Linked DNA regions of Homo sapiens: all the other regions are linked to region 1. The links are contacts of gene promoters, found by promoter capture Hi-C in human tissues and cell types (Jung and others, 2019). All regions are on one chromosome and are shown on one strand. The core of a region is centred on a gene start or on the middle of the fragment in contact, and the rest is flanking DNA. Distances in the headings are between cores, read along the strand shown. Region 1 holds the start of ADAMTS9 (ADAM metallopeptidase with thrombospondin type 1 motif 9). Region 2 has its middle 130 kb from the start of LINC02040. Region 3 has its middle 160 kb from the start of LINC02040. Region 4 overlaps ADAMTS9-AS2 (ADAMTS9 antisense RNA 2).

Region 1 (6,008 bases), core at 2,594-5,093:
AGGGTAAAACCCAGATGGCAGGATAGCTATGAGGATTGAATAATTAGCACAAAGAACTCAATGAAGGGAATCTACTGTTATTATCAATAATGATACAAACTACTTTCTCTACAGTACCTGTTGCTTGAAGTCAGTAGTTAGAAGACTTTTAAAAAATACACTAAGGTCATTCACTCACAGGGCAAACAAAGACAACACAGTTTCTACCTGCTGCAGTCTGCAAATAGGAAACCGGATCAGAGAGGACATAGTACACATGGTCTGGTACATAGTAAGTACTCAAGAAAAGATTCTCATTATTATTATTCAGACAAAAGATTGGAACCCAAATTATTTAGTTAGCACAATTGTCCTTTTCATTTCTTGTCATGTAAAACACATCTCCCTAAGATTCTTTAGGCCCAAGGTCACAGAGCTCAGCCAGCACCAGGTCCCAGCTTGGTGATTCACTGACCAGAATGCAGTGCTACCAAGTACCAGGGGCTTATCTGTTCCCCAAATCACCTGACGCTGCTGACCACTCAGGAAACTATTCACTTGAATTCTGGCTCCTGGGCCCTCCCTACCATTTGGGTGTGGGTTTCCCCTTTCTGTGGAAATTGATGGCTTTGCTTCAAGTCTCCTTCCTGCTGTTTCCAGTGGCATTAGGCAAACAGAGTCATTTGTGATGTCATCACTGTCATTTCCATTGGCCGGATTATCTCTCCCTAGTGACTAATATCATTCATCACTCCTCTGGGATCTAATTTTCATGACGAATCAGCCAATGAATACTTCCACTTAACCTACAATACCATTCAATTCCAGTAAAGTCCCACGAAGAAAACGGGCTAAAAACTGTCCCTCCTTTAACTCCAGGTGACCTTGAAAAGGTTTGCTTCTTTCAGAGCAAATTTTTATGAGGGGCCAATTTATTTTATTTCATTTTATTATTTCTTTTCTCTTTTTTTGTAGAGACAAGGGGTTGCTATGTTGCCAAGGCTGGTCTTGAACCGCTGAACTGACCTCATGCAATCCTCCCACCTCAACCTTCCAAAGTGCTAGGATTACAGGTGTGAGCCACCATGCCTAGTCTTAATAAATACTTATTGACTACCTACTATGTGCCAGATCTCTTCTAACTGCTGAGGGAAAAGCTGTGAAATATCAATGAAATCGCTGACATGATTTTCATTAAATACTTTGCATGAGAAGAATAAGAGAGAGCTAAAGAAAAGTTATACATGCAATAAAAGCTTGAGGCAATTCTCTGAATGATTTTAGCCATTTTCCCACAAAGCAACCCTCCAAAAATCTAGCAGTGCTTCTGATTAATCAGTTATTCATGACATATGATAATAGTTATGAACTTGGATTGAACGACTGAAACGGAGTTTGAATCGTGTCTCTCACTTACTGGATTGAGGGGGGTCAAATTATTTCACTTATTCAGATCTCGGTATCCTTATTGGTAAAATGAGATTACTGACACTGACTTCCTGAAAGAGCTGTTTTGAGAATTAAATTAAATGCTATATGTTACCCCATGGTAAGTACTGAATAAGAGTACTTATTTAGACAAAGAGTAATTATTCAGACAAAAGATTTTTGCCTGACTTGCTTAGTTAGCTCAACTGTCTTTTTCATGTCTCACGATTTAAAAGACATTTTCCTAAGATTCTTTAAGACTTTTTTACAGATGTAAATGCAGAAGCCAGCTAATACACTGAAGAAAAGATGGGTAGACTCACTAAGGATGAGAAATTCATAAACCTAGGTTCTTGGTCACCTCAGGAGTTCACCAAGAGATATTTTGTATCTTTCTGGCCTATCAGCTCTTGTGGATCAATTTTTTAAAACTGTAGACAAAGTTCATTCTTCAAGCAAAGTCCTAGAAAGAAAGCAAAGGAGAGAGAGTACACAAAGGAGGCTTCTGTCCCTACATATCGTAATTTCTATACCATTAGTTAACTTCTCTTTGTCAGGAAGGATTTGAACTGAAAGAGAAAAAAAGATTTAATGGGAAATACTGGAAAGTGCTATATTTTTGAGTAATTTTACAATGGAAGTACTGGAATATTTTCCACAGGAATCAGCCAATAGATTGATTTCTTGATATTTTTCTGTTCCTTACTAAATTTTCAGCAACTCCCAGACACTGTGATTGTGGGGAATGTTGTTATAATAAAAAGAAAGATTGTGTATTAGAAGAAACGTATTTTAGTGAATTAATTTGGAGGTTCAAGGTTTAAATGCCATTCTCTAAAAATCTCTAATTGTGCACAATACAGATGTTATTTTTCCATCCTTACATTTTACATATCCATTATGAAATTCCAGTAATAAGACGATGGTAACATTATCAATTTGGGTTAACAATTATTTAGCAAATTCGTCTTGCCAAGTCATTTTTACCCTTCACCAGAAGAAATATATGTATTAGTATCTCAAGAATAGTTGACATTGCTAGCATATTGCGATTTGGTTCCTGGTGTTGGCAATCTTTGGTATTTCTAGTCCTGAGTGCTAACCTACCACGCAACAGAACCTCAACCCCCGTTCTAGGATACTTGGGCAAATATATATTTATTAGTCATATATTTATATATTTTTAACGATATTGTCATGTCTTTCCTCTTGAAATTATCTTGAAATTCTATCTTCCTGAGGGCTGGTTAAAGAAAAGGCGCCACTGAACCACCCAAGATTGAACAATTCACACACACACACACACACACACACACACACACACACACGAAGGTGTAGCTTGAAGCGCCTGCTTTCAGTCTTTCCCAGTCTTTCCAAGCATCTCTCAGGCTGAAAGCAAGCGGAAGTGATTGAGAAATCCCTCCAGGGACTGGTGCCTCCCACAGGGATCTACAACTTTACACTCCATCCCCCCTTCCCCTCCCATCTCTAAACCCCCTGGTAGTGAGGGGCGCCAGAGTCCCCGCCCCTTCTTGCTGCCAAAATTTGTTCTTAACCTTTTTTGGGGCAGGGGACCTACAGAATGCTATGGACCCTCCATGAATGGTGACAGAGGTTGGTGGAAAGCACAGCTTAAATATTTTGCGAAATTTTCAAGAGACCACGTATTAGAAACACACTCCGACCTGCAGGATTAAGAACCCCATTTCTAAAACTCTTGACTTGGGGTGATTAAATCGAGAGCGGAGCTCAGGTGCCAAATCTCTTCCCGAATGAAAAAGTGTAGGAAGGGAAGGCGCTCCGGCGCTGGGCCACTTTCACTTGTAAGAAACCAAAAGATGGGGACTGGTGGCAAGAGATGGGGACGGAAGAGAAAGGAAAGGAAAAGGAGAAATGTGAGAAACAGACAGGGACACGGTGGGGCGGGGAGAAGACAGACATCACAGGGGAAAATGGGGAGAAGGGACAGAGTCCGAGAGGCACAGCAGCAGAGAGACAAGGGGGAGGAGGAAAAAGAGACTCGGAAGGGAGGAGAGAGAGGAGAGGAGAGGAAAAAGACGAGAGGGGAAGTGGCTGCACGCGCGCCAGGAAAGGGAGAGAACTTTCCCTGCTTTCCCTCCCCGGGGCAGGGAATCTCAGAAAACCCCACTTCAGCGAGGTGGCGGGGACCAGGAACAGCTGCCCCGGCGCTGGTGACGCCTCTGGCCTCCGCCTCTTGCAGCCGGCAGGGCCTCCGGCTGCGAGTCCCGCACGGGCCGGCCGAGGAGGGGACATGGTCTGGAAGGAGGCGGTCCCCGTTCGTCTCGCTTTCTCCTCCCCTCTCCTCCTCTTAGAGGCGTGCACCGGGGGCATTTGAGAGGCTGTGGACCCGCGGCCCCCCCGCCTCCGCCCCCCCAGCCCCCCATTCAAGAAGCCGCTCAGCTATCCCGGCCAGCACAGGGCGCCCGGCGCGCCTCGGAGCGCAAGTTCCTCGCCTTCTCCTGCCCGCTCGCTGGGCATTATGCGGCCAAGCAGCCGAGCCCCAGTCCTCCTCCTCCTCCTGCTCCTCCGGCTCCTCCTGCGGCCCGAGCGGCTCAGCTCTCGGCAGGCGGCGGCGTTGCTCAGCCGAGCGCAGACGGGACCCTCGCAGCGAGACCTCAGCGACTCCTAAAGTCAAAAGTTGGCGGCGGGCGCCGGGCTCCGCGCGCTCTCCACGGCCGCTGCCTCGCGTCGCCGCCGCAGCCAAGGAGGGCAGGAGGGAGGGGGGTGGGGGCAGCGGAGGGAGGGGTGGGAAGCACCATGCAGTTTGTATCCTGGGCCACACTGCTAACGCTCCTGGTGCGGGACCTGGCCGAGATGGGGAGCCCAGACGCCGCGGCGGCCGTGCGCAAGGACAGGCTGCACCCGAGGCAAGGTAACCAGGCTCCGGCCCCCGGGACCCCGCCGGCCCCGACGCCGCCTCCCGGTCCTCGCTCCTGGGCAGGGGCACCCCGCAGCGGAGGCTTCTCTCCTTTTCCTAGAAAGAATTATCTCCCGCTTTGCAGCCTCTCCCTTCTTTGGGTCATCCCCAACCAATTGCTAGGGAGGGACACTATGGAAACGAATTTAGGCAACCCCCCCCTACCTTGCTGTTGCCAGATATATCCCCATCCCCACTCCCACGCCGCAAACTAAAGTAACTTAGTAATTGGGGGCACCAGATAGCGTCATGTTTTATTTTATTCAGGTTATTTATCAATATCTGAAATCATATATATTTTGACTTGTTAATTGTCTGGCTCGGAATAGTGTATCCTCAGCACCTAGCACAGGTCCTGTTACTGGCACATAGTAGGTGCTCAGCAAATATTTGTCCACTGATTAAGGGTGAAGGGATTGACTCGAATGGGCTGGAAAATAAGGTCAGAACAAAGTCCCCACCTTCGTTTTAAATTAAAGCTTAAGGAAAAATGAATTATTGGTTCATATACCTCTGCTTCTCTCCGCAGTGAAATTATTAGAGACCCTGAGCGAATACGAAATCGTGTCTCCCATCCGAGTGAACGCTCTCGGAGAACCCTTTCCCACGAACGTCCACTTCAAAAGAACGCGACGGAGCATTAACTCTGCCACTGACCCCTGGCCTGCCTTCGCCTCCTCCTCTTCCTCCTCTACCTCCTCCCAGGCGCATTACCGCCTCTCTGCCTTCGGCCAGCAGTTTCTATTTAATCTCACCGCCAATGCCGGATTTATCGCTCCACTGTTCACTGTCACCCTCCTCGGGACGCCCGGGGTGAATCAGACCAAGTTTTATTCCGAAGAGGAAGCGGAACTCAAGCACTGTTTCTACAAAGGCTATGTCAATACCAACTCCGAGCACACGGCCGTCATCAGCCTCTGCTCAGGAATGGTAAGTGGGCGCGCGCCACCTCCTCTCCCCTTCCGCCTCCTCGCCCGCTTCTAGAAGACTTAATTGTCCTCTAAGCCTAGAGACCCTCACTGTGGCGAGGCTCCGCTCCTCTCCGGCGTTAAATATCAGCTAGAAACTCGTATGGTTTGGGTAGCTAGCTCTGTGCGTGCGAGTACACTGGCGTGGAGCGCACACACCCGCCCCCAGGGGCTTCTGGATGTTTCAGAGCTTTCTGGAGTTTGGACTCGGTTCAGCGGCGCGTTGCCCAACGCTGCGAGGCGGCCTGGAAGTCAGTTTCCAAACTCGGAGAAAGTTACTGGAGTTGCGGTTCCCTGCAGCAAACTTGGCCACCCGGGAGCGGAGCCGCTGAGCGCAGGGCGGACCAGACTCCTTATTGGTGCGCCTTGCATCGGGGATGTGGGGCTGAGGATCCCCTGCCCAAGGCACTGGGAGTTCCTTCAGTGTGTGTTGTGGAGGGCGGTGCGTAATCTAGAGTCCCCGCTTTCTCTCAGGGCCTTTATTCACGCGCCAGGAACCCTGAGGCTGAACTGGATTGACAGGGAGCAGGTCCCGTCCCAGGAACGGAAGGGTGGGCCGAGGGCTCTGGGGGCGGGGGAGAAGGCGGAGCCTACCCCGGACGCTTTGAATTGGGGTGGAACCGAGAGTGGGGGTGCAGCGCAGTCCAACTCTGCACCCTACTGGCGGGGTGGCCGGGAGAAACGGGATAGTGGGA
Region 2 (6,008 bases), core at 3,013-5,512, 360 kb before region 1:
GAGAGTTTATCCTCAGTTACACAGGTAAGAATAATGCAACTACAGGTGTCATTGTAAGAGGGAGGGAGAGGGAGACTTGATTGTAGCAGAGACAGTAGGCAACATGATGACCAAAGTAAGATACGACACTGTTGGCTTTGAAAATAGAGAAAGGAGACAAGTAATGCAGCTCTGGAAACTGGAAAATGCAAGGAGATGAATTCCTCTCTAGAGTCTCCAAAGGGAGCATGGCCTGATGACACTTTGATTTCAGCCCAGCGAAACTAATTTTGGACTTCTGAACTCTAGAACTGTAAAATAATAAATCTCTTTTGTTTTAAACCACCAAGTTCATGGTGATTTCTTATAGCAGCCACAGGAAACTAAAGCAGAGGCTCACTAGATGTTCCACATAATACTTCCATTTTAACTCATTGGTCAAAATTTGGTTACATGGCTACATATAGCTGCAAGGGTGCCTGGGAAAGGTTTTTTTTTTTTTTTTTTTTTTTTTCTGGATGTCATTAGTGCCTCCTAAAGAAGAAGTGAATGCTGTTGGAAAACAACTCATCGTGTCAGCCACAGATGGAGAGATAGTAATCAAAGTACATTCAATATATACTGAACATTTAACAAATGTCAGGTATGTTCTGGGTTCTGGTTATACACTGGTGAACGATAGAGGCAAAATTTCTGCTCTCATGTAGCTCATATACTAGAGAGGGAATACAGAAAATGAACAAAGCTATAAATATATAAGGTAAAAAGGGATGTATGCTATTAAAGAAATAAAGCAGGGGCTGAGTATAGAGTTGGGAGATTCATGGCTATTTTGGAAAGGATTTTACAAAAGAATATGAGAAGCATCCTGTCATAAGATAATAGGGTGTAGTAGGCCAGGTGGTCAACTGGATAGTAACTGCTGTGACTAAAGGTATTTGAAATCAAACTTAGAATCTGCTTCCAAAATGACAATGTGAGGAGCTCTGTGGCTCTCTGCCCAGTGGAACAACCATAATTGATAAAAAATATTTTTTTAAGAAGCTAAAGTCTCTGAAATTGTTATAATGGCATATAGCAGATGATGAAATATTTTTTTAAATCGACTAAATCTTATTAAGAACAATGAGCATCTGTAGCATTTGAGTCATGACCTACTCTCTCCCTATCCTCCCTCCCCTGCCCCACAGTTCAAAGAAACTCCATTCCAAAAAGATGTGGCCAAGAAGATAGGGTACCCTCCTCTCTAAGCTCCAAGTCAAGTGGTGTAGAATCTTCCCTGGAGGGGCAGGTTTTTAGCATTTCTGATTCTCCTGTGCTCTGTGATACAGAGGCTAAATTCCAGGTAAGTGTGAATGAGAGGTTGGGGGATTCCCTTTCTCTACTCAGCCGCCAATCACAGGACAGAGGATCTACTCAGTTATAGCAAGCTGAGAATACTATAGCTCAGATGACACTCAACCCAGATCTCTCATAGGTAGAGGTTTTAGGCCAGCTGTCAGCAAAGGCTAGTCCAGAAGACCAGAGGCTGCTTCCCTCACTCAGTGTCCTGCTCATAAAGCAGGAGTGTCTCTTCAAGAGAAATGGGCCGCTCTTCCCAATCCTAGCTCCACAGAATAGGTACAGATGTTTTGCCAAGGGAGACAGGTATAAGAACAGAGTTCTGAAGTTTTCCTCTTAGGAACTGACTTTATTTGGAAGAAAGTGTGGTAAAGAAAGTTCAAGCCTAAGGGTGATCTCAAAAACTTGGAGATTTTTCGTGGTAAGGAGGCTGGTTGCAACATGAGAACAACAAACTAAACTATAGACCAACTAGTTTATTGAAGAGAACCAGGGAAAAAGCTAAGAAGAGCCTTACTTGGATCAGAACAAACCTCGAAAACTGGATTTAAAGCCTACCCTTGCAAAGGGGGCCTGAATTTATTTGCATCAGACTATGGGGCACTTTATGCTCCAGGAAATTGCCAAAAAATGATAGAGCAGTGAATCAGCAATTAGTGGAGCCTAACAGCTGGGTGTGATACCAACAGAAGCAGACAGCTTAACAGAAAGTTCAGAAAAAGAGACAGTGAAAGAGAGCCCTACTAAAAACACTCTCATCCCAGTTTAACTGTGGGCATGCCCAAGCTTCTTACTAAAGAGCAACAAAGTTGACAAGATCCCTTTGGCAAGTCTGATCATGAAAAAAAGAGAGACAGAGAGAAGACACTGATTGCTAAATTAAAGATTGGAGGAGGGGTTATTACCACTAACTTCACAGAATAAAAATGATTACAAACATATATTATAAACAATGGTATATCAGCAACTTAGATAACCCAGATGAAATGGACAAATTCCTAGAAATATACAAAGTACCAAAACTACTCAAGAAGAAATAGGAGAGCTGAGTAGATCCATAAAACACAAAGAGATTGAATTCAGGAGTAACAAAGTTCCCACAAAAAAAAAAAAAAAAAAAAAAAAAAAAAAAAGCCAGAACCAGATGAATACACTGGTGAATTTTACCAAAACTTAAAAAATTAATATCAATTATTCACCAAATTCTCCCAAAATATAGAAGAGAAAAGAACATTTCCCAGATCAGTCTATGAGGGCAGCGTTACTCTGATACTAAAATCTGACAAAGACATCACAAGAAAACTACAGACCAATACTTCTTACGAATATAGACACAAAATATTCAACCAAATACTAACAAACTGAGTTCCATAATATATAAAAGGGGTTATATTCCATAACAATGTGAGATTTATCCCAGGAATGCAAGTTTGGATGGACATTTAAAAATCAATTAATATAATATATCAGTAGAATCAAGAACAAAAAACATATAAGCATTTTGATAGATATAGAAAAAGTATTTGACAAAATTCCAGATCCCTTCATAACAAAAGCAATAAGACTAGAAGGAAATTTCCTTTACCTGACTAAGGGCACGTACAAAAACTCCACAGCTAACAGTTTATTTATGTATTTATTTAATTTTTTTTGAGACAGAGAGTCCTACACTGTTGCCCAGGCTGGAGTGCAATGGCATGATCTCAGCTCACTGCAACCTCTGTCCCCCGGGTTCAAGCGATTCTCCTGTGTCCGCCACCCAGGTAGCTGGGATTACAGGCACGCACCACCATGCCTGGCTATTTTTTCTATTTTTAGTAGAGATGAGGTTTCATCGTGTTGGCCAGGCTGGTCTTGAACTCCTGACTTCAAGTGATCTGCCCACCTCAGCCTCCCAAAGTGCTGGGATTACAGGCGTAAGCCACCGCGTCCAGCTGCTGACAATATATCTAAAGGTAAAAGATGGAAAGCTTTCCCTCCAAGATCAAAAACAAGACAAGAATATCCACTTATGCTATCTCAACCTTATACTTGAGGTTCTAGTCAAGGATATTAGGCAAGAAAAAGAAATAAAAGACATCCAAATTAAAAAGGAAAAGTAAAACTACTTGTATTAGCAGATGACATGATCTTGTATATAGAAAACTCTAAAGAAACTATTAAAACTAATAAATGAGTTCAGCAAGTTTGCAAGACACAGATCAATATTCAAAAATCAACTGTATTTGCACACTGTAGCAGTGAACAAACTGAAACTGACATGAACAGATTAAATCCATTTACAATAGCATCAAAAGAGTAAAATACTGAGAAATAACTTTATGAAAGAAGGACAAAATTTATACTCTGAAAGCTATAAAACACTGTTGAAAGAAATTACAGATAACCTAAATAAATAGAAAGTCATCCCATGTTCATGGATTGAATTACTTAATATTGTTAAGATGTCATTACTCCCCAAAATGATTCATAGATTCAATGCAATCCTTTTCAAGATCCAAAGTAGCTTATTTTTTTGTTTGCAAATATTGACAAGGTGATCCTAATGTTTATATGAAAATTCATGGAACCCGGAACAGCTAAAACAATCTAGAAAAAATGAGAAAAATGTTAGTGGATTCATATTTTGTTGCTACAAAAATGTAGCAAGTGGATTCACTTGCTACAATGCCAGTAATCAAGACAGTCTGGTACTGGCATAAGGATAAACATATACATGAGTGGAGTTGAAACGAGAGTCTGGCAATAACCCACCACATTTATAGTCAGCTGATTTTCTACAAAGGCATCAGAAGAATTAAATGGTGGTAAGAATAATCTTTTCAACAAATGATGCTGGGAAACTTGATGTCCGCCTGCAAAAGAATTAAGTTGGCCGTTTCCCTCACATCTGACACAAAAATGAACTCAAAATAGGTCACAGATCTAAAGGTAAGAATTAAAACTACAAAACTCTTAGAATAAAATAATCTTTGTAACTTTGCTAAGCAATGGATTCTTAGGTGTGACACCAAAAGCACAAGCAACAACAACAAAATAAATAACTTGGACTTAATCATTATTAAAAGCTGTCTCACTTAAAGGACACCATCAAGAAGGTAAAAAGACAACCCACGAAATGGGAGAAAATATTTGCAAATCATATATCTGATAAGTGACTTTTACCTAGATCATATAGAGAGCTCTTACAACTCAACAATAAAATGACAACCCAATTAAACAATGGGTAAAGATGCAAATAGTCATTTCTCCAAAAAACATATACAAAATGTCAATAAGCACATGCAAGGATGCTCAACATTATTAGTTATCAGAAAAATGCAAATTAAAATTATAATGAGCTACCACTTAACACCCATTAAGATGGGTATAATAAAAATTACAAATAATAACGTGTTGATGATGATGTGGAGAAATCAGGATTCTAATACACTACCAAAGGGACTTTAACATTTTGAAGCTGCTTTGAACAGTAGTCTGACAGTTCCTCAAAAGTTTAAACTTAGAGTTACTATATGATCTAACAATTCCACTCCTAGATGTATACCCAAGAGTAATGAAAACATATTCACACAAAAAGTTGTATACATATAAATGTTTATAGCAGCATCGTTCATAATGGCCAAAAAGTGGGGGAGAAACCCCCAAATGTCCATCAGTTGAAGAAAGGGCAAATAAAATGTGGTATATCCATATGATGGAATATTATTAGGCCATTAAAAGTTATAACATGTTACAGCATAGATAAACCTTGAAAACATGCTGTTAAGTGAAAGAAACCAGTCAAAAATGCCCACACATTGTAAGATTTCATTTATGTAAAATATCCAGAATAGGCAAATATATAGAGACAGAAATTAGATTAGTCATTTCCTAGGCCTGTGGGATTTAGCTAAGGTAGATGGGGAGTGACTATTCACTGGCATAGAGTTTCTTTTGGGAGTGATAAAAATGTTCTAAAATGGACTGTAGTGATGGTTACACAACCTTGTACATATACTAAAAACCACTGAATTTTACACTTTGTAAAGGGGTGAATTGTATCACATGTGAATTACATGTAAGTTTATATATATATAAGAGAATATGCTAGCTAAAAGAAAACTAAATAAACTACAATAACAAAAAACACATCTGGGGTTTTATTCAGCCCATGCATAACCAAATTGTGGTGCCTAAGGTAGAGTCTTTATAAGATCCCCTTCAACTTCAGGATGTTCATTTTATGGTAGAGAATCCTAACCTAGGAAAAAAGGAATTAATATCTGGTATACAAGACCAAGAAGGGATTATATTTATTCAGCTGACTAGCCTTAAAGAAAAACAAGGAGGAAAAGCTATGCATAATTGACCAAGCGGAGGAAAAAAAAGTTGGCTTCTAATCTCCAACTTAAAACAACATGGTCTGAAGACTAAAATTTTCTCCATGGCTGAGAACATCTGATCTTATGAACCCAGAGGCAGGAAGGGGTTTCTTGGGAAGAGCGAGCAGTTCTGTGTTGATCAGGCGCTCTCAACCGTGGAGAAAATTTTAGTCTTCAGACCATGTCCTGTTAAGTTTGGGATTAGAAGCCAACTCAGTTTAGAAATAGGAGTCCTGGCTAGGCGCGCTGGCTCACGCCTGTAATCCCAGCACTTTGGGAGGCCAAGGTGGGTGGATCATGAGGTCAGGGGTTCAAGACCAGCCT
Region 3 (6,008 bases), core at 2,530-5,029, 330 kb before region 1:
TGCTTTCAAACAATTAAATCAGAGAACCACCTGTGTAAATATGTAATATTTGGCGATAAGAAAATGATTAGGCGATGGAGCCTGAGCTGAACTCGTGAAAAATACTGAATATTTCTCCCTCGGGCTTTTAACACATGCTTTTAAGCATTTCTGATCTCAAGAACAAGGTTAGGTTATTTTCCCACCCTTCCTACCCCTTGTTTGTTTGGAAAATGTAGCTAATATCTCTAGATTTCGTTCGTTTGAAAGCATTAAAATTTTAAGGGAATCATCTCATGTGGAAGCTGAAAGAGAGGTTGAAATAGGGTGAAACACTAACCAGTAATTTTCTTTTTCAAAGCCAAAATGTCGATCTCAACAGATAAACCGACAATGGAAACTCATTTTGGACAATGATATCTGTCCTTATTTGTATTTAGGATTTCTATGGTGGGATTGCAATGGTAGGATCATGGAAGGAGCAAGAGCTGTTGTAGTCAGATAAACCAGGGATTTGAATCATCACTTTAGCACCTAGCAGCTATGTGACCTTTAGCACATTTTGAGCCTAGGTTCCAAATCTTAAAAAACAAACAAAAAAAGGACATAATTCCTAACCTTATCTACCATGCCATGCCACATGTAAAGTACTGAGCTCTCTGCCTGCTAAGCAAACATCCACTCTGCCCCCACTCCAGAATAATAGACCAGAAAAATCTGTCCTCTTTAGCAAGCCACAGTCTTCAATCATTGCTGATTTTTAAAAGTTGCTTTTTGGTGGAGAACAATAAGCAATAAGTGATACCACCAGAAAGCAATTCTAAAATTTCCTTCTTTACTGTCAAACAGTACCCTGCCCTACGTTTGGCATTTGTTCCTTCTTTAACAGAAATTCGTGTAGACTAACCATAGAAAAGATCTTTTCAGTTCTATAGTTGGACATCGAAAAATACCATACCTGACTATCAGTTGCTTAGGTGTTTTTGCTGTTTCAATCCGAAATTTTTTGGCAGAAGGGCATTCTCTGGGTGGGACTTTAGGGACCCACTCCTGTTGTATTCCATTTGCATTTATGGGTCATCACTTGATGCAAAGCTCAAAGCCCTGCTTCCTTACTTCCTAAACTCTGTGATCTTGGACAAGTTATTCTTTGTGCTTCGGTTTCTTCAACTGCAAAATAGAAATGGAAATAACTAATGAGTAGGATTATTCAGAGAAGTCAGTGGGTTATACGGAAAGGACTTAGAATAGTGATTTGAACAGAGACAACAGTCAATTTTATTCTTTTGTTTGTTTTTTTTTTTTACATTTTGGATGCAGGCGGTACATGTGCTTGTTTGTTACATGAGTATATTGCATATTGGTGGGGATTGGGCTTCTAGTGTATCCATTACCCAAATAGCGAATATTGTACCAGGTAGGTATTTTTTCAACCCTCACCCCTAACCTTCCTCACTTTTTGAGTCCCCAGTGTTTATTATTTCCATCTTTATGTCCATAGGTACTCATTGTTTAGCTCCTATTTATAAGTGAGAACATGCGGTATTTGGTTTTCTGTTTCTGAGTTAGTTCAGTTAGGATAATGGCCTCCAGCACCATCTATGTTGCTACAAAGAGCAGGATTTCATTCTTTTTTATGGTTGCATAGTATTCTATTTTATATATATTTATATCATATAAAATAGGGTATGTGTGTATGTATGTACATATATATATATACACGCACACATACATACACACATACCCTATTTTCTTTATCTAGTCAACCATTGATGAACACATAGGTTGTTTGCTATTATAAGTAATGCTGTGATGAACATACAAGTTCAGGTGTCTTTTTGATATAATAATTTCTTTACCTTTGGGTAGATACCCAGTAGTGGGATTGCTGCATCAAATAGTAGTTCTATTTTTAGTTCTTTGAGAAATCTCCATACTGTTTTCCATAGAGGTTGAACTAATTTACATTCCCACCAGCAATGTATATGTGTAACCTTTTCTCCATATCCATGCCAACATTGACAACAACAAATAAACGTTAGTTGTAGTTGTGGTTGCTATTATTACTGGGACAAATGTAGGCAGCTAACAAGAGTTGGTGTCATGGAAAGAGCTAGTGTACACAGCACAGTATTCAAACTCCCAGTCTTCCCAAGTCAAAAAAGTCACTGCTAAAAATGTTATCCTCTTTCATAAAAGTCATTTGCAGTTTCACTTAGTTTTAATGCAATGTTCTATTTGGGGTTTCTAAATATGACAGTGAAAAGTGAGAAAGACTTCTATGAAATATTACTGTTATTTCTACAGGCAGGTGCAATTGCATTTGGACCTTGACTCCAAAATTAATCACTGACTTCAAGTTGACACACTCGTGAGGGAGTAAACAGCAAAAAGTTATAAAAAGTTGGATTTATTTACCATCACTTTTTAAATGAATATTTTGAACAGCAGTATACGAGGTTTGAGGATATAAACCTGTCTCCTGCTGACTTGAGCATCTAAGTTGCCCACAATTACCTGATTGTTTTGTCACTTTGATGGTACCTTCTATTTTTGGTGAGCACTTTGCTTGTTTTTAGATAGGTTTTACTAGTGTAAAACAAACATCCTAAACACCCCCAAATTTTCTGAGGCCAAAAGATATACATTAAGTTGTGACAGGAGAGCTAATACAGATTCGTAGGAGGCTGTGAAAGGAGTTTTAAATGCAAAATATTAAGAAGGATCACTCTTTTTGGAGTGCATCATTTCACCTTCTAATCTTTTAAGGAAACTGATCAGTACTAAATGAAAAGATGTGGTGGGATGAGTTGCTTCGGAATAGAAAAAGCACTTTAAATGATTAGGCTTCCTACATACCTTAAAATAAATTTACTCTGAAATTCCCATTAGATCCCTTTGAATTCACAGGGCAATATGGTCTCCTTGTTTTGTTTAACAGCTATACATTCCCAAGGGTGTTAACGACTCATCGTGCTGGAGTTGAGCTCTAATATTCTTCTTCTCTGAGGCCTTATCACTTATACAGAGTCTGTTGATTAACTGTGTATAACAATATTCCAATTGTCCAATTGAATAGGCTGTATTATATGAATCTCAATAATAACACCATAAAATCTAAGCAGAGAAAGAGAGGGTGCACTGATAAATGTAAGTGCATGCACTGAATTTCTGAAATGTATTTTCTCATTTGGCACTTTCAATGCCACAGTTTAAACACCGAAATGTTCTTTCTGTACATTTATCAATGTATAATTCTTTACATTTGGGATGCTTTCATAAACATTGGTCCATTTTGTAGGAAATTGAAGAAATCATTCTAATTCCACATTTTGGACACTTTATAATTAACCTAAAATTTTTTCATCTGGTTTAAATATTCTGCCAACTCCTCTTGCACCTTACTTCCTGGTCAATTCCCACATAAATTTCTGCAGCTGCAAACTGCCAGGCTGCTATTGATTCTATGTCTCCTTGCTAAAGGTTACTAACTTCATCAACAGTAATGCTATAAATTACATCTGTTAAGATTCTCTTATTCCTTGCTGCTAGGTCACAAGGTACCTTTGGTTTCTGGCTGCTTAATGTTGTTGACATTCATTTTGTCCATCATTCTACAAAGACTATAGAACTGAATTATTGTTGGATACTATTACCAAGTTGACACACTTTCAGCTTCTGGACCATGAGCTGGAACCAAAAATCTGACGTTTTTGGCAACAAATCCCACAGTGTATTATCTTTGGTCCAAAAAGCTTTCAAATAATGAAAGCATGACTACAGCTGTTCAATCTTATTCCAAGTTTCTTTCTGCCTTCCTTCACCCATGCACCCATGACATTCGGATGCACAGACTTGGGATAACATTCTTAGTTTTTATTCAGAAGAAAAAAATAGAGTTGTTAGAGATCTGTGTAAGCAAAAATTAAATGAAGCATCATGGCATTAATGTGAGAAGATTATAGATAGATTCGTAGATCTCAATTCGTATGCTACAAACTTTTCACAGGTTTGCCACCTAGTTGGGAACAGTCTGTGCAGTTTTCTTTTTGTACCTCTGAGGTTATTCACTGTCATGACAACTGTCACTAATTTTGTTTGTCTGAGATGGTCATGAAGCATGGTGGTGGTAGTGGGGCTGAAACTAGGAGTAGGAAAGGAGAGACAGCATAACACAAATCTGAAAAGAAAAATTGAAAACATGCGTGACATGAAAGATGTGCGGGTGGAAGTCTGTAGTATCTTTTCCCTAGAAGGGTATAAATATGCACACCTTATTAACTTTATTGAAGTATAATTTACATGAGACAAAATCAATGTATCTATTTTAAGTGTCCAGTTTAAGTTTTGATATATGCATACATATGTATAATGATCACCAAAATCAAGACACATAAAATTCCCAATTCACTAAAATATTACCTTCTGTTTCTGCCCAGGCAACCTCCCACCCTAACCCCAGCTGCCATTATATTTTCTATCAATAAAGACTAGATTTACCTGTTTTAGATCTTCAAACAAATTGAGTCATATGATGTGTAGTTTTTGGGGATTGGGCACTTTTACTCAGCAAAATATTTTTGAGATTCATTCACATTATGTTCAACAAGTGTTGATACATAGGTAGACAAGCAGTCTGTGTAGCAGACATATGTTTTTTATTTTTCTTGGGCTGATACCTAGAAAAGGGGTTGGTGAGTTATATGATAAGCATGTCTTTAACTTTATAAGAAACTACCAAATTGTGTTCTAAGATGTTTATACTATTTTACACTCTCACTACCCATGTATGACATTTCCAGTACTCCTAAAACCTCTCCAAATCTTGGTAATATCTGCCTTTTTACATTTTAGCTATTTTAGTAGGTGTGTAGTGGTATCTCATTGTGGTTTAAAATTGCGTTTCTATGGTGACTATGATGTTGAGTATCTTTTAGTGTTTACTGACCCTTATATTCTTCTGTGAAGTGTATGTTCAAATCTTTTGCTCCTCTTAAAAATGTAGTTGTCTTTATATTATTGAGTCATAAAAGTTCTTCTTATAGTCCAGATACAACTCTATGATGTTCACTGTGAATATTTTCTTTCAATCTTTGACTTGACTTATTTTTTATTGGTGCTTTGTCAGTAGCAAAAGTTTTTGCTTTTGAGGAAATCTAACAATTTGGTCTTTTTTGGTTAGTACTTTTTATGGTCTAAGAAATCCATTATGGCCAGGCCATAAAATTTTATTGTTTTAGGTTTTACATTTAGTTCCGTGATCTGTGTCTAGTTTACTTTTTGCGTGTGGTAAGGGGTAGGAACCAAAGTTAGTCTTTTTCAATACAGTCTGATTGTTACAGCACTAATGGTTGAAAAGACTATACTTTCCTCTCTGTTCTATTCAAGCTCACTGACCTTTTTCTTCTGCAATATCAAACTGTTATTGCAACTATCTAGTGAATTTTTTCACTTCGGATATTATATTTTTCTGCTTCAGAAGTTTCACTAAGTTCTTTTTTACAGTTCCCATTTCTCTCATTGCATTTATGTTTTTATACACATACTTAAACTACTGATAGCTGTTTGAAAGTCCTTGTCCACTAATTTTTATCATCTCTCTCACTTCTGGGTCTCTTTCTGTTGATGCATTTTTCTCCTGGTCATGGAAAGGACGTTTTTTCTTAATTTCTTGTGTGTCTAGTAATTTTTTTATTGCATGTTGCTAAACATTGTGTTACAGTATTGATTGTCTGGATTTAGTTTTGCTCCCTTAAAGAGCATTGTGCTTTGTTCTAGCAAGCATTTAAATTTCATGTAGATTAGCTTAATCTTTTTGAGATTTCTAAAAAGTTTTATTAGAACAAGTATGGAGTACAGTAGCCCTCCCCGCCCCCCTCCATGGGGAATACTTTCCAAGACCCCCTGTGGATGCCTGAAACTGAGGAAGGTACCCCCTGAACCTGATTGCTATTGATTGGAATGCCTCTCTGTTCATGTCTTGCACCCACAAATGTAACTCCTTTTCCATCTTAACTAAGCACTTTGCA
Region 4 (6,008 bases), core at 1,812-4,311, 270 kb before region 1:
TCAATAAATAGAAAAATAATTTGGAAGATTCCAGTGAAAATACTGTGCTGTGTGTCAGATGCCAAAGAAGAGCCGCCACAAAATTCCCACTCTTTCTGACAGCTAACCATAATGCAGGATTTACTAATATCTACTGTAGAATGAATGCACAACAAATCTTGCCATGAAAATGCCAGAAAATTAAAGTGATTTTTGGCACGTAAGTGTGTTATAACCTAAATGGCTAAAGACATCGGGTAAATGCCCTTGTGTGTTTTTGTTTGGGTCTACCATCTATACAGTCAGGGTGTCTCACTGTGATAAGAATTCTACCCCAGTGCAATTGCAGATTCTACTGCAGCAGAATCAGATTGGTTTCTTAACAACAACAAAAACCAAAACAATAATTGCTTTTAGAATAACAAATCAATATCATCTTAAACACAAATTAAGCCAGCTCTCCTGAGAACATGAGCAATGATATGGGAAGAGATTAGACAGTTTGGGAAATCACAGGACCCCCCCATAGACTATACCATAGAGTCTGATGCAACTTGCACATGCAGAATAACTGCAACTTGGGCCAATTTTCAGCTTAAGGAATTTTTATTGGTAACATCCTATTGCCAGATACCATGGAAGACTGAGCTAAACATTGTGTTACTTGCAACCTACCATATGTTGTGCCATTAGCCTGGGCTCCAGAGTTAACCCATATATTTTAGTCTGTTCCAATTCTAGGAAATTGGGAGCAATCACAATCAGAAGGATTCTGATTTTCACTGGAAGACAGATTTGGGTGATGCCAAGTACTTTTTAAATATTATCACTGCCAGTGGAAGGAAGAAAATTGCAGATAGAGTAGAAGTTTCTGCTTTCATGCTGAAAAAACAGAACATTAAGATATGAACAAGACTAGAATAGTTAGGTGCTAAATAGTGATCTTGACTCATTATTTGACAGTGCTGTCTATAGGACTTTATAAGTGAAGTAAATTGGAGCTCTTAATGCACTTTCTTGGAAGAAATTGTGTCCTCTTGGTTTTAGATGGCTGATGGGGAGTAAGAAGCATCATTTATTTAGAAGAAACTGGGAGGGGGGAGAAAGAAAGCAAAGGTAATCATAATACATTTCATTGCTATTATTCATAAAATTGCTATTTTAGGGTGTTTTGTTTTTTGTTTTTTGTTTTTCCTTTTTTGAGGCAGAGTCTCACTCTCGCCCAGGCTGGAGTGTAGTCATGCAATCTCGGCTCACTGCAACCTCTGCCTCCCGGGTTCCAGCAATTCTTTGCCTCAGCCTCCCACGTAGCTGGGATCACAGGCACCTGCCACCATGCCCGACTAATTTTTGTATTTTTAGTAGAGACGGGGTTTCACCATCTTGGCCAGGCTGGTCTTGAACTCCTGACCTCGTGATCCACCAGCCTTGGCCTTCCAAAGTGCTGGGATTACAAGCATGAGCCACCACGCCTGGCCTTTAGGCGGGATTTTTAATGGTGCTAATCAACGCTTCAATTAAACAACGAGTACTATTTAAAAAGGGAAAAGGAATTTACTGACATTTATAGGAATTCTTTTTTCTCTTCCTAGCAAGAATAGATGCTCTATTCTTGCCTGTATATGGGTTTTTCTTTCTTGTAAGTTGACATTTGCAATTTATGGATATTATATTAAAATATATTAAAAATATAATGTCCTTTTTTTTCTGAATGATAGGAATCAGCTTAGCATGATGCATTTCTTTTTGGTATAAATAAAGGGTAATGGTTGAATTTATGAAAATCAATCTAAAAACACAATTTATTTTGATTAGAGCTGAATCTTTTCTTGAGTTTTCCTTATTACATTATAAGTCCTTTATCCTTTACATCTCTGTTCATTAATGCATGAAGCCAAAAATCATTAAGAGTGCTGCCTCACTATAAATTACTGGGACTAGCTTTCTGTGCTAGAGTTTTATACTGACAATAGCTTCTAGGGCTATAACATTTTCATTATAACTGCTCATGTTAACTGGCAAGCATTACATCATTGACAAGTCTCCAAATCAGAGTGACTGCTGAGTGTATCCATTCAACAAAAATATCATTGCATATTGTTTTGAAGAATAGCCTTAAGAGCAGAAGTGTATCTCATCTTACCAAATGCTTTCCCCATCTTTAACTAGTTATTCTTTCTGATAACCTTATGACAGAGTCCACTATGAACATGCCCACTTGAAAAAAGGAAGAAGAGAGAGGAAACATTCTACAGAAAGGGCTGTGTCAGAGGCTACCATGTTGCCAGTGTCATGTTCTGTTGGGAACAGCTGCCTTTCAATGATTTGCCTCTTTCAATGGTCAATTATGTTCCAGAATGGCTGATCAGATCAATAATAGTTCTTAAATTGCTGAGGAATCTGAGGCTGGGTTGACAGTTAAGAACATCCTCTCCTCCTCATTTCAGTCAAATCAATCAGCCACAGGCCTCCTACAAGGTAACAAAATTGGCAGGGCTGTGAGGTCTGATATTCCAATTGTCCTTCCAGGGAGGAAAATCATCCCTGGAGTCTCAGAGTCACAGACTCTTATAGTTTAAAAGAAATATCCAGTGGTTCTTAACCATATCTTGGATCATGGACTCCTGTGAATCCAACACAAGCCATGTATGGCATCTCTTTCCCCAAAAATACACATAAAATCTTCCTGTAATTAAAGCTCATTCATGAAACTCACCTTTGCTTTTTCAGATGATGAAATACAGACTCAAAAAGGTGAAGTTACATGCCCAGGTTCACATAACTTCCAACCAGGGCCCCCATCAAATTCTCTATTGATACCTCTTGAGAGGTCTGAGGTAATAAGGTCTTCTTTATCTGTTCTAGGAAACAGTACTCTGGTTCTATATAGTTCAGCTTCATTCATGCATTTAACAATATGTGTTGAGTCCTAGAGCCAGGCACTGTGCTAATTCATTCTTATCTTCCACAGCACTGGTCCCACAAACCAAAGAAGAATCAAAATGGCAGTCTTACATGTTGATTTTACTTGTTGGAAAAGTTACAGAGAATGCTGTTTTGCTGATTCTTTTTGTCAGATGAGGAAAATAGACCTCTAAAACAAGTCTAACTTGCCTTAGAATCCTTAATGTACCTCTGGTCCTTTTAGAATCAAACCCAATTCTCTGCCTGGTGTTAAAGACCCATTCATACATGTAAAATTTTATGTTCTGTCTCATCTTTCCAGATTCCTGTACTGAAAAACGCTTTGCTTAAGACACACATTCTACTCTGTACCAAATCATTTAAAAAAAAATCAGTACTATTCTTCATTCAAGTGATTCCCACCCAGAAATCACTATAGCTCTATCCCTCCTTCAAGGCCTGAGTCCTATTACCCTTTCTCTCTGAATCCTATCCTGATCACCTGACTCAAAATCTCCACCTCCCCTTTTCCTCATAATTCCTGTAGCTCATGTGACTATGTCCACTTGGAGGATAATGGTTGACAGTCCTGTTTTATTTCTTCATGCATATATGACTTAGCACCACTAAGAATGTCTATTGTTCATTATATACCCAACTTCCCTTGACAGATTGGTTCAAATGAAGTCTCATAAAAAATGGTCTCCCTTCAAAGGAGTCCCAGATTATTTCTATTTTTAGTAATTGATGATTAACAGAAAGCCCAGTCTATCCACATGTTGAAATCCTGGAGTCTGCCTTCAATGTGGATCCCTCGGCCAAGAATACGCTTCTCATTTTTATTTTCTTCCAGAGTCCAGAAAACCTTGGAAAGCTGCCTTAAGGGGTGATGGAATGAAAAACCAGACCAAACCAGGCAGACATGGGTTCTTCCCTAAATGAACATTCCATAAGCCCAACACAGAGCATCTTCCATTTCAGTGCTCAGCCCCCAAATGCCTCCTGGTTATAATTAAGTACTTCAAAGTTTTCCAAACACCCTTTTAGAAATCCGGTCCCAAATAAAAAATAATGTTCAATCAGATGTAAATCATCGCACAGCAGGGCAGGAGAGGCATGGGAAGTGGTCATCTGCACTTGGACTAATCAGCAAGTCTAGTCCCTTGATGAGGATTTTCATTTTCTCATTTGTCATTCTAGCCACTGAATTCTCAAGTGGCCAATTTGTTCCCTATTGGTAATCAGCTAGTTATTTTTCTTCTCATTTCTCTCTCTGGGATTGTTGGACTGTTTAGAGCAATTCATCACCCATTTGGGACTAATCCTTCTGTGGAGGGAAGTGGGGGAGGGAAGCTGTTATCCTAGAGAAGATAAAGTAGAAGACTATTTCCCCATTTATATTTGGTTGTTAAACAATGATTTCCCCAATGAGGTAAGTGAAATAATGACATAACTGCCTAAGAGTGAAACAATGAAAGCTTTAGGGGTAGGTGCCTTATGCAATGGAAAGTATCCCCAGCTGTGAAGTTTGTTACTCCGAAATGACTTGTTCTTAGATTGTCTTTACAACCCCCAAGGGAGCATCATCTTACATTCATTACCTAAGTTTGGAGGAAGCTGCATCTATGAAGATTATAAATGCAGAAAGAGAGTTTTAAATATGTATAATGCATTGGTGGAAGCAATTTTACCCCATCAAATAGGAAAAAGGTAGCCTTTGAAGGTTGTTTTGTCTGCAACAAGCAAGTTCAAACGTTCTTCCATTTGTTCTCGCCAAGTCTTCTCGATTACAGCATCTCACTTTGGTTTGCCTTTTGTCCTCTCTTTCTCCCTCCAGCAGTTGCTGTCTCTCTCTGTCTCCGATAAAATCATTTCCAAACGTTTTCAGGGATTCCATTTTTCTAAGTTCACGTCAGGTGCCATGGAAAGGTTGACCCCACCACTCATTGCAAACAAGTCTCTGGTGTCGGTGCATTTTCTAATTAGTGGGTGTCTAAGTTGATCTCTCAGATTTCCTTCCGTCCTTCTGAAGAACCTAATTTCAAACCCTCAAGGCTGACTGTGTTCACCAGAGCCAAAGGTTCACATTTCCGAAGTCCACGTTCAGCCTTAAGAAAGATGTTAGTGTGACACAAATTGGCATTTTCTTGGCAAGTTTTTTTGCTCACAGCAAATTCTTTATTCCTTGGAAGGAAGCTGAGAGTTGAAAACCCCTTCTAGCTATTTCCTTAGAGACACTCTGAATTCGGGCAGCAACGTGATCTGAATCTTGAAATGTTTATCTTCCTCCACCGTTTTTCATTTCTTGAATCCTTTCTTGTGTCCTTTATTCTTCATATAAACATCCACATATGTAACTTCACTTTTAGGTGGGTCTAGCTATAAGGAAAATCAAAGGAGACAGAGAAAGCACGTTTACACACCCCATATCGAGTGTTCTTGCTTTTCTTCTGCCAATTCCCTCCACGCATGGCTGTTTTCACAATGGGTGATATCACCCAACAGCTGTCTTGGACTGGAAACTAAAATGCTTGTAGAATTTCAGTTTTTTGTCTTACCTACTTAAATTTGTCCCTTTTCCAAAAACACTAAAAAAATAAAAAAAAAGAATAGTTGCCTTCAGTGGGAAATTATTCCTATAACTGAAAATAAGTTGTTTTATAACTTACTCTGCTAAGGTTTTGTTGTAATTGCCCCTAATTCTAAATTTGCTTTCGAGAATCATTAACTGTGATTATATGGACATGAGCTTTTATATTTGGTATTTGATAAAACAAGAAAATTGATTTTGTAAAAATCTGTTTTCCATCTGCAATTTGTGAGCAGGAAATGGGTGGAAAGAAGTAATGCGTTACCTGCCTGGTGTTCTCAGGCTGACCTAAACCAGAACTTCAATATCTCATGTACTGCCTATTGGTTGTTTAGCCTATGGATTTGCTGAACCCAGTGAGCAGAGATCTCTGTGCTTCATTCTAGGTAATTAATCTGGTTATTTACTGATGTCCCTCGACCTCCCTCCTCTGAAAACAGCAGGTTCCTTCATTATCATCAAAAATTGCTTCCTCACTAAAGTCTTGATTTCTGAGATTCTTATTAGGTTGGTGCAAAAGTAATCGTGGTTTTTG

What was found. The method cuts DNA at HindIII sites, captures the fragments that hold promoters and counts their contacts. A contact is called where the count stands out against the background at its distance.
Region 2: a fragment that was not itself captured here is called in contact with the fragment with the promoter of ADAMTS9 in region 1 in 1 of the 25 tissues and cell types used here (H1 embryonic stem cells).
Region 3: a fragment that was not itself captured here is called in contact with the fragment with the promoter of ADAMTS9 in region 1 in 1 of the 25 tissues and cell types used here (H1 embryonic stem cells).
Region 4: a fragment that was not itself captured here is called in contact with the fragment with the promoter of ADAMTS9 in region 1 in 1 of the 25 tissues and cell types used here (heart left ventricle).

What each region holds. Positions count from the first base shown.
Region 1 is chr3:64,685,835-64,691,842 of GRCh38, reverse strand. ADAMTS9 (ADAM metallopeptidase with thrombospondin type 1 motif 9) reads left to right here and starts at 3,843. Exons shown (of 40, transcript NM_182920.2): 1 at 3,843-4,300; 2 at 4,875-5,275. The coding sequence starts at 4,186. All of the region lies in intron 1 of ADAMTS9-AS2 (ADAMTS9 antisense RNA 2), which reads right to left. The HindIII fragment of the contact is 6,670 bases long and covers 561-6,008 here.
Region 2 is chr3:65,044,330-65,050,337 of GRCh38, reverse strand. No RefSeq gene overlaps it. Among named protein-coding and RNA genes, the nearest start is that of LINC02040, 130 kb to the left of the region's middle. The HindIII fragment of the contact is 3,128 bases long and covers 2,699-5,826 here.
Region 3 is chr3:65,013,582-65,019,589 of GRCh38, reverse strand. No RefSeq gene overlaps it. Among named protein-coding and RNA genes, the nearest start is that of LINC02040, 160 kb to the left of the region's middle. The HindIII fragment of the contact is 4,541 bases long and covers 1,509-6,008 here.
Region 4 is chr3:64,956,150-64,962,157 of GRCh38, reverse strand. The region is part of intron 4 of ADAMTS9-AS2 (ADAMTS9 antisense RNA 2); the gene reads right to left. All of the region lies in intron 1 of LOC105377124 (a long non-coding RNA gene), which reads left to right. Among named protein-coding and RNA genes, the nearest start is that of LINC02040, 220 kb to the left of the region's middle. RefSeq lists a silencer at 2,777-2,977. The HindIII fragment of the contact is 5,795 bases long and covers 164-5,958 here.